3 separate regions of the Homo sapiens genome follow, and all the other regions are linked to region 1. The links are contacts of gene promoters, found by promoter capture Hi-C in blood cells and fetal thymus (Javierre and others, 2016). All regions are on one chromosome and are shown on one strand. The core of a region is centred on a gene start or on the middle of the fragment in contact, and the rest is flanking DNA. Distances in the headings are between cores, read along the strand shown.

The links. Contacts are between HindIII fragments. The CHiCAGO score rates a contact against its expected background, and 5 or more counts as called.
Region 2: a contact is called between a fragment that was not itself captured here and the fragment with the promoter of SPACA6 in region 1, in 1 of 17 cell types (non-activated CD4 T cells). The highest score is 7.1, in non-activated CD4 T cells.
Region 3: a contact is called between the fragment with the promoter of CACNG8 here and the fragment with the promoter of SPACA6 in region 1, in 3 of 17 cell types (activated CD4 T cells, naive B cells and naive CD8 T cells). The highest score is 8.2, in activated CD4 T cells.

Annotation. Positions count from the first base shown.
Region 1 is chr19:51,691,953-51,694,678 of GRCh38, reverse strand. SPACA6 (sperm acrosome associated 6) reads right to left here and starts at 1,349. Exons shown (of 9, transcript NM_001316972.2): 1 at 939-1,349; 2 at 124-201. The coding sequence starts at 1,152. SPACA6-AS1 (SPACA6 antisense RNA 1) reads left to right here and starts at 1,223. Exons shown (of 2, transcript NR_108100.1): 1 at 1,223-2,045. It overlaps MIR99B (microRNA 99b), which reads right to left and starts at 2,067; the gene lies at 1,998-2,067. It overlaps MIRLET7E (microRNA let-7e), which reads right to left and starts at 1,893; the gene lies at 1,815-1,893. It also overlaps MIR125A. The HindIII fragment of the contact is 8,848 bases long and covers 1,002-2,726 here.
Region 2 is chr19:54,455,222-54,457,947 of GRCh38, reverse strand. It overlaps LENG8 (leukocyte receptor cluster member 8), which reads right to left. Exons shown (of 16, transcript NM_052925.4): 8 at 2,381-2,584; 9 at 1,703-1,981; 10 at 1,483-1,623; 11 at 1,027-1,312; 12 at 100-201; 13 at 1-14. Among named protein-coding and RNA genes, the nearest start is that of LENG9, 7.2 kb to the left of the region's middle. The HindIII fragment of the contact is 6,641 bases long and covers 1-2,726 here.
Region 3 is chr19:53,961,601-53,964,326 of GRCh38, reverse strand. It overlaps CACNG8 (calcium voltage-gated channel auxiliary subunit gamma 8), which reads right to left and starts at 1,390. Exons shown (of 4, transcript NM_031895.6): 1 at 902-1,390. The coding sequence starts at 1,184. RefSeq lists an enhancer at 2,029-2,549. The HindIII fragment of the contact is 5,876 bases long and covers 1-2,726 here.

The DNA.
Region 1 (2,726 bases), core at 100-2,599:
TTCCCCTCCCGGATCACTGCCCAACTCTGGGGGCCTCCTTCCTCTGCCCTGGGCCCTCCCACATACCCATTTCTTAGGGGCTCCAAGTCCACATCTCCCATCTCCCCATCCCCACACACTCACCCTGGGCAGCAGCCAGCTCCTGCAGGGCATGGGTCATCTGGGTGAAGGTGTCATGCAGGTGGCTTCTCTCATCATAGTCTGGCGGTGAGGGAGGGAGCAGGGGCTGGGGGAGGCAGCTCCCCGCAACACCATGTCCCTAATGCGAACATTCTGTTTCTGAGTCTCTGCCCTCCCAAGTCTGTATCCTCCCCTCTCTGACTCTTTGCCCCACAGTCGCTATGCTTCCTGAGTCCCTCCCAAGTCTCTATCCTCCCTGAGTCTCTGCCCCCGACCAGTCGCTATCCTGCTTCCCCTAGTCTCTGCCTCATCTCTGTCCTCCTCTCTCTGGGTTTCCATCCTCTTTGAGTCTCCATCTTCCACCCTCTGAGTCTCCATCCTCCCCTCTCTGGGTCTCTATTCCCTCTCCAGTCTCCAACCTCTCCTGACTCTCCATCCTCCCCTTTCTATGAGTCTCCATCCTCCTGACTCTCCATCCTCCCGAGTGTCCATCCTCCCCTCTCTGACTCTCCATACTCCTGAGTCTCCATCTTTCCGAGTCTCCATCTTCCTCTCTCTCTGAGTCTCCATCCTCCCCCTCTCTGAGTCTCCATCTTCCCCTCTCTGACTCTCCATCCTCCCCTCTCTGAGTCTTTGCCCTGCTGTCTTCCCCTGTCTGTGTCTCTCTGTCCCTAAGTCTCTGTTGTTCTCATGGTCTTTGAGCCTTTCTCCTCTGACTGTTTCTCTCTGTCTGTCCCTCAGCCTGACCCTCTGGGCCTCTCCTGCCCTCCCTCTGCACCTTCCCCAGGACACTGATGAAGTGTGGATGGTCTCCTCACTGATTTCGGTGTCAGAGAGGCCCTGGAAGGCGGCCGTGAAGGCCTCCTCACACTCTTCAAGCTTGGGGCTCCGCATCCCAACAAACATCTGGCAGATGCGGAGGCGCTCAGAGTAGGTTGTGAAGCAGAGGAGACAGGCCCAGGCGGGCACCCTGAAGACAGCCAGGGCCAGCAGGGCAGACGGGACGGCACTGGCCAGAGCCAGCAGGGCCATCGTGTGGGTCTCAAGGCCAGGGGAGAAGCTAGTAACCTTTATGAAGTCACCACAGGGCGGGGGAAGGGCCAGTGGTCTGGGGTCAGAGGTCAGGTTTCAGTTGGTGGTCAAATGTCATGCTCTGGAGGAAGGGTATGAGGAGTCAGGGGTCAGAAGTCAGGCCAGCAATTCCCCAGGTGTGTGGTTGGGCCAGACGCCAGGCTCCCAAGAACCTCACCTGTGACCCTGGATGTCCTCACAGGTTAAAGGGTCTCAGGGACCTAGAGACTGGCAACATGGTGTGCGGTGGCCCGGTAGACCCTGGGGTGGGGGTCAGAGATGGAGATAGGCACAGAGACATTCTGAGAGCCAGAGACAGAAAGACCAAAAACGACAGAAATAGAGACACAGAGAGATATCGGGAGGGGCAGAGACCTAGAAAGCCAGAATAAGAGGGAGTCAGAGGATCCACTGTGAAAGAGACACAGAAGCCACAGAGACACAGCAGAGATGGAGACAGACAGGGAAGGAAAACAGATTTCAGGGGAAGGAGGGGATGCAGGGACAAGGACAGAAAAGAGCCCGGCTCTTCCTCCCAGGGTCCCTGGGGCAGCCCAGTGGGGCTAAGGGTCCCTGAGTGGGGCTGGGGGTCCCCGCCGGGCCCCGTCCCGTGCAGGGCGCAGCCTGGGGAAAGCTAGGAGGCCGTATAGTGATCTCCTTGGGTGTCCTCCTCAACTATACAACCTCCTACCTCAGCCCGGGGGGCGCGGCAGGTGGACAGACCCGACAGACAGACAGACAGGGACCAGGAGGACCAGGGATGAGGGGGAGGGCCGGGGAGGCCCCAGCCGCGATGGTGAGCCCCCGACACGGACCCACAGACACGAGCTTGTGTGCGGCGAAGGCCCCGCAAGGTCGGTTCTACGGGTGGGTGCCAGGACCCAGGAGTCCGGGCCCCCGGCCCCTCCTCCCCAAGGAACCCAGGAGTCCAGGCCCTCAGCCCCTTCCTCATCAGGGACCCTGGAGTCAAGGCTCTCATCCCCCTCCTCCCTAAAGAACCCAGAAGTCTAGGCCCTTCCTCACCACAGACCCAGGAATCCAGGCCTCTGGCCCTTTTCTCCCCAAATGTTCCTGGAATCCAAGGACTCAGCCCCTTCCTCCCTCAGACTCATGAGTCCAGATCCAAAGCCTCCTTCTCCCCAGAGACCCAGGAGTCCCTGCCCCCAGCCCCTCCTCCCTCCGGCCAGGCAGGCCTCCTGGGGAAGGCATGGCCTGATAGAAAACCTGGCTTCCTGGGTGCCGGCTGGGAGGGAACCTCATTTGTCTCGTAATTTGGCCCTTTGGGCACACCTGCTTCCTACCTACCCTCCTGTCAGTCTGCAGAGACTCCAGGCCCAGGGCTAAGGAGGCCAGGGGCTAGCCAACCATCAGAGCCTCCCTAGGTGCTTTCTTTCCTCTCTCCTCCCTTCTTTGGGTCATTTACAACTATGACAGCCACAATCTCCCAGCGCTGACCCCATACCAGGCCCTGAGCACCAGTCCTCTCCCTGACACCTCCCACTCCAGAGAGCGAGGTGCCCTCAGCATCCCCATTT
Region 2 (2,726 bases), core at 118-2,617, 2.8 Mb before region 1:
CGGATGCCCTGCACCTGGGGCAGCGGGGCGAGAACAAGAGTCACAAGGAGCGGGAGGCAGGACTGGCTGAGGCCAGGCCCCTCCCAGCGCGAGTCTCACCGTCAGATCCTGCCGGATCGACTTCATCTGCTCGCAGGCAAACGCGTAGTCCTGCTTCTCTTTCCAGTGGCACTTGACCATGCACAGCGACTTTTTCAAAACCTGAAAAAGGGAACTGAATTCACACTCGGAGTACAACTCAGGTAGCGTGGCCAACGGCTTCCACTTATTTGGTGGGAGAGTTGCAACATTAAAAAAAGAAAAAAAAGGCCAGGCGCAGTGGCTCACGCCTGTAATCCCAGCACTTTGGGAGGCCGAGGTGTGTGGATCATCTGAGGTCAGGAGTTTGAGACCAACCTGGCCAACATGGTGAAACCCCGTCTCTACTAAAAATACAAAAATCAGCCAGGCGTAGTGGCAGACGCCTGTAATCCCAGCCACTAGGGAGGCTGAGGCAGGAGAATCGCTTGAAGCCGGGGAGCGGAGGCTGCGGTGAGCCAAGATCACGCCATTGCACTCCAGCTTGGGCGACAGAGCCAGACTCTCTCCCAAAAAAAGAGAAAACAAACCCACAAGACATGGGTTAAGAGTGGCCACCTCCACACCCATTTCCCTATAAGCACATGGCTGTTCACAGGTTCTGCAGCAGAACAGTGACTACGCCAAACACTGGAAACACAGCCCCCCACGCCCCACAGCCCACGGGCCTGGGAGAAGGCTTTATGCTCCGTGTCACCTAAGCCAGGAACCACGGCCCAGAGGTCAAGCGATTCGCCGGCCAAGCTGCACACCCGCCACGCGGGGCTCCAGGGCAGCAGAGCGCCTTTGCGCTCCTCTCAGAATGCCGACCAGCCGAGGCGTCTCTGGCCGAGCTTCCCCTGCCATACCAGAGCCCCCGTGTGGCCTCTGCCACCCTCCCTGGGTTGGCTCCCCAAGTCCTGAGCCAGCACGGCCTCACAGAGCAGAACTGCCCTGCTGGGCACTTACTGCCACAGGGCGCACGGTGGACGGGTCGGGGGCACAGGTGAGGCGCAGGTAGTGCTTGGTGATGTCAGGGCAGGTGCCCACGATCTGCAGCTCCTGCCAGTCAGGGTCAGCCCCACTGCTCTCCAGGCTGCTCATCTGCAGCACCAGGGGCTCGAGGCGCAGGCGGCGGGAGTGTCCGTGCTGGAAGCGGGCTGCCCGCTTCTGCTTCTTCAGCTCTCGCTCCGGGTCCTCACACTCCAGCGCCGCCATCTTCTTTCGACTGCGCTTGGTGGGCGCCAGATCGTGCCTAGGAAGGGATGAGGGGCAGTGAGCGCGACAGGCGTCTCCAGCCCCCCTTCAGCCTCGCCCCTTTGGCAGCTGGCTGTCCACCTGTCCGGCCCTCCTCCTCCTTCTCCCATGGGTCCCCAGTACCCTCCTCCACCCTGGCCCGTGTGTCGAGCCCTCACACAGTCTCACCTCTTCCCACGCTGCGCCCTGCCTCGGCCCCGATCCATATGGGCCCCTCGACCGCCCCGGCCCTTAGGGGGCGGGTTCCTGCGGCCCACAGGGTGACACTCATTCCCTGAGTAGGAGCTGTCGGAGTCTGAGTGGGAGTCACTGCAGGAAGAAGCAGGAGGGTCAGGCCTGAAACGCCTCCCCCTCCCTCACACACAGCCCCAGCCGGGAGCCTCAGTACCTTCTGCGGAAGTGGCGCGTCGGGGACCTGGAGGAGGAGCGGGAGCGGGAGTCTGTGCTGGAAGAAGAGCTGTTGTCCTTCATGAAGACGTTGCGGTTGCCAAACTTGGTGAAGCTGTTGCCCCGGGCTCGACCGGCACCCCCAGCCCCGGGCGTCCCTCGCTGGGACGGGGCACCCCCGCCCCTTGTCGCCGAGCCTGCCCCTCTAGGAGGGTGAAGGCTGCTAGCGGCCTCCCACCGCTTCTTCTTAGGGCTCTCAGCCACAGGCTCCCGGGTCAGCCTGAGAATACAGCAGGGCAGGGCGTCACCAACCCCGCCAGACACTGGCAGGACAGCCGCCACCACCTCCCTCAAGGTACCGACCCGCCTCCGAAAGGAAAGGCACTTACCCCAGGCGGCTCAGCTACTACAGTGCAGAAATGAGACGCGAACCCAGGTTTTCCGTCTCCAGAGGGTGCGCTTAACCACTGAGCAATGCACGCCTCTCCAGCACCCATGGTCCCCACCCCACCCCACCGGCCTCCCTCCAACCAGGACTTCATCCCCCCAGGATCCAACTTTCCAGTTCATTTCTCTTTGGAGCTCCTGGTACCTGGGACCCGCAACTCTCCTACCTCCATACCCAGCCCATGCCTCTCACAGCACCACCCTCCCACCTATGTCCCCCACCCAGACTAACCCCGGCAAGGGCTCCCGGCTCCAGTCAATGGTATAGGCCGAGCCGTCCTGCAGCCGCGCCTGCAGCACCTCCTTGAGCAGCTTTTCCGTGCGGTCCTTGTCCTCCTCCGACTCACAGGCGGTGAAGCAGCGCTCCACATACTCTTTCATGTCCTGGGGCCAGTCATCCGGCTTCCCAGACAGGTTCCCCCGGGCAGAGGACCCGCTGCGGGAGGACAGATGAGGGGCTCAGCTGGAGACGATCCCAAACTCAAAAGACCATCCCCACCGCCACTCTGAGCTGACACAGCGGGACGCAGTCCCCAAGTTTTCCTTCTGTCTCCTTCAGTGCTCACAGCAACCCCCAA
Region 3 (2,726 bases), core at 141-2,640, 2.3 Mb before region 1:
TTAAGGCACGAAGTTTCAGGGGAGCAGCAGCCAAAGAGAAGGGGAAAGAGACAGACCGGAAGACTGGGCCGTGAAAGGGGGCGGGAGAGGCAGGGGACTTCAGAGGACTGGGGGGGAAATGTCGGGAGAGAGAAGATGTCACGGGGCACGAGGGAGAGGAAATGAAGGGGCAGGTGGAGCGGAGGAGCAGGGTCAAGATGAACTGACGGGAAAGAGGGAGAAAGAGGCTGCTGGGTGCAGTGGCTCATGCCCTTCATCCCAGCACTTTGGAGGCCAAGGCAGGAGGATCTCTTGAGCTCAGGAGCTCGAGACCAGCCTGGGCAACAGGAGACCTCATCTCTACAAATAATAAAAAAAATTAGCTGGGCACAGTGGCTCATGCCTGTGGTCCCAGCTACTCAGGAGGCAGAGGTGGGAGGATGGCTTGAGCCTAGGGATTCGAGGCTGCAGTGAGCTGTGATTGTGCCACCGTACTCCAGCCTGGGCGACAGAGTGAGACCTTGTCAAAAAAAAAAAAAAAAAGAGAAAAGGCACAGGGCAGAGTGGAAGAAATGAAACAGGAGGAGCCCCAGGTACTGGAGAGAGGGAAGATGCAGGGGTGTGATGGGGCAGCGCAGGAGACACGGACTAGGGAAAGATAGGATAAGGGGGTTCAGCGGAGAGGCAGAGGGGCTGCAGAGGGAGCATGCCGAGGAATTCCGCAGGGTGCCAGGACGCAGGGAGGAGTGGGAAGGAGGGGAGAGGAGGTCAGGGGCGCGAGTGGGAAGGCGCAGAAGCCCCTCTGGCAGAGGAGGAGGGGTGCCCAAGGGGGCCCCAGGATCAGGGACAGGCAGCCCCGGGAGGCTCAGGGTCTCTCGGAGGGGAGCGGCGGGGGCTGCGGGGAGGGCCGCCCGCACCCTACCTTCCAGGCAGCAGATCCTCCAGAGGCCCGAGTGCGTGAGGCCGCCGGGGTCCTTCTTCTCCGAGGCGCCGCCGCCCCCGCGGTGGGGGGTCCCGTCGTCGCCGCCGGCCGTGAGGTTGGTGGTGTTGCAGATGAGGGCGCGCGTGTAGAGCCAGTAGTCAGTGCTGATGGCGATGGTCATGAGGCCGAAGGCGGCGAAGGCGCCCACCGTCGTCAGCAGCACCTGCACCCCCTTCTCGCACCAGAGGCCCCGCTCTTCGTTCCAGCGCTTCAGCGACTCCAGTTTGACCACGGGCAGCCGGGGGGCCGTGGGCCACCACCGGGGCAGCGGGGGCGGGGCCGTGCCGGCGGCTGGGGGGGGGTTCACAGCGCAGGCAGAAGCGGGGGGCCCGGGGCCGGCGGGGCTGGGGAGGGGGGCGGCGAGGAGGAGGCTGCGGCCGGGGAGGGGGTCAGAGCGCGGCCATGGTCGGCGGCTGGTGGAGGGCAAGGAGCGAGATCTCGCATTAGAGGAGAAGAAGGCACAGGTACCTCCCCCAGTCCCCGCCCCCCCCCCCCCAAAATCCCTGCCTCAGCTCCAGAAACTCCTTCCACTCGGGGCTCCACTGCTTCTCTTTCTCAAAAATAATAATAATAATAATAATAATAATAATAATTAATAAATAAGATGAAATCTCTCTCCACTCTTGTCTTCTGCCCAAGAAAGTCATCCCACCATCCCACTAACCCCACTCGGAGGAGTCCCCACCACCGCTAATAATTAATAAATAAGATGAAATCTCTCTCCACTCCTGTCTTCTGCCCAAGAAAGTCGTCCCACCATCCCACTAACCCCACTCGGAGGAGTCCCCACCACCGCTAATAATTAATAAATAAGATGAAATCTCTCTCCACTCCTGTCTTCTGCCCAAGAAAGTCGTCCCACCATCCCACTAACCCCACTCGGAGGAGTCCCCACCACCGCTAATAATTAATAAATAAGATGAAATCTCTCTCCACTCCTGTCTTCTGCCCAAGAAAGTCGTCCCACCATCCCACTAACCCCACTCGGAGGAGTCCCCACCACCGCTCACACTCACAGCCCTCGCCCCTAGCCCGCGCCGCCTCCGCCCCAGGGGGCTCCACGATCCTCATCGCATGGGAAGCCACCCCCCGCCATGATGCCAAGCCCCACGCCGCCGCCTCCTCCCCAGGAGCCCCCGTCGCGTTCTTCCTTCCTTAGCGACCCCCGCCCCATCACCATGCGGCGCCCACCAGCTCTCCCCACTCTTCCCCTGCAAGCCCCACCTCTCCACCCGCTAGAACCCTTCCCTGTCAGCCCAACTTTTCCCTGAGCGTCTCCACAACTTAAGAAGCCCGAGTAGCACCACTTCCGTGGGAGTAACCTCCGCGAGCCCCCTCCGGTCTGGCTTTTGTCATTCCATCACTCCAAATGGTCCCCCACAGTTTCCTCTCCTTAGGAAAAAATAAATCTCTCAACCTCTCTTCAACTAAAAAGGAAAAATTAAAAGAAGAAGAAAAAGAAAAAGAAAATCCCAGCTGACCCTCACAGTTTGTGCAACTCGGAATCACCAGCCACCCTCAGTCAGCCTCCTCTCCCTGGAAGCCCCCTTCCTGCCTCGGGCAGCCTCCAACACACCTGGAAATCACCCGAGGACCTTAAAAATTCGGATGTTTGAGTCCCACCTGAGAAAGTCCGACATGGTTGGTCTGCAGTGTGGCCTGCGCATGTAAGTTTTTAAAAGCTCCCTGGGGAATTCTAATGCACCCAACATCAGACCCACTGGTTTGCAAGCTGCCCCCCCCCCGCCATCTCCAGCCCATTCCC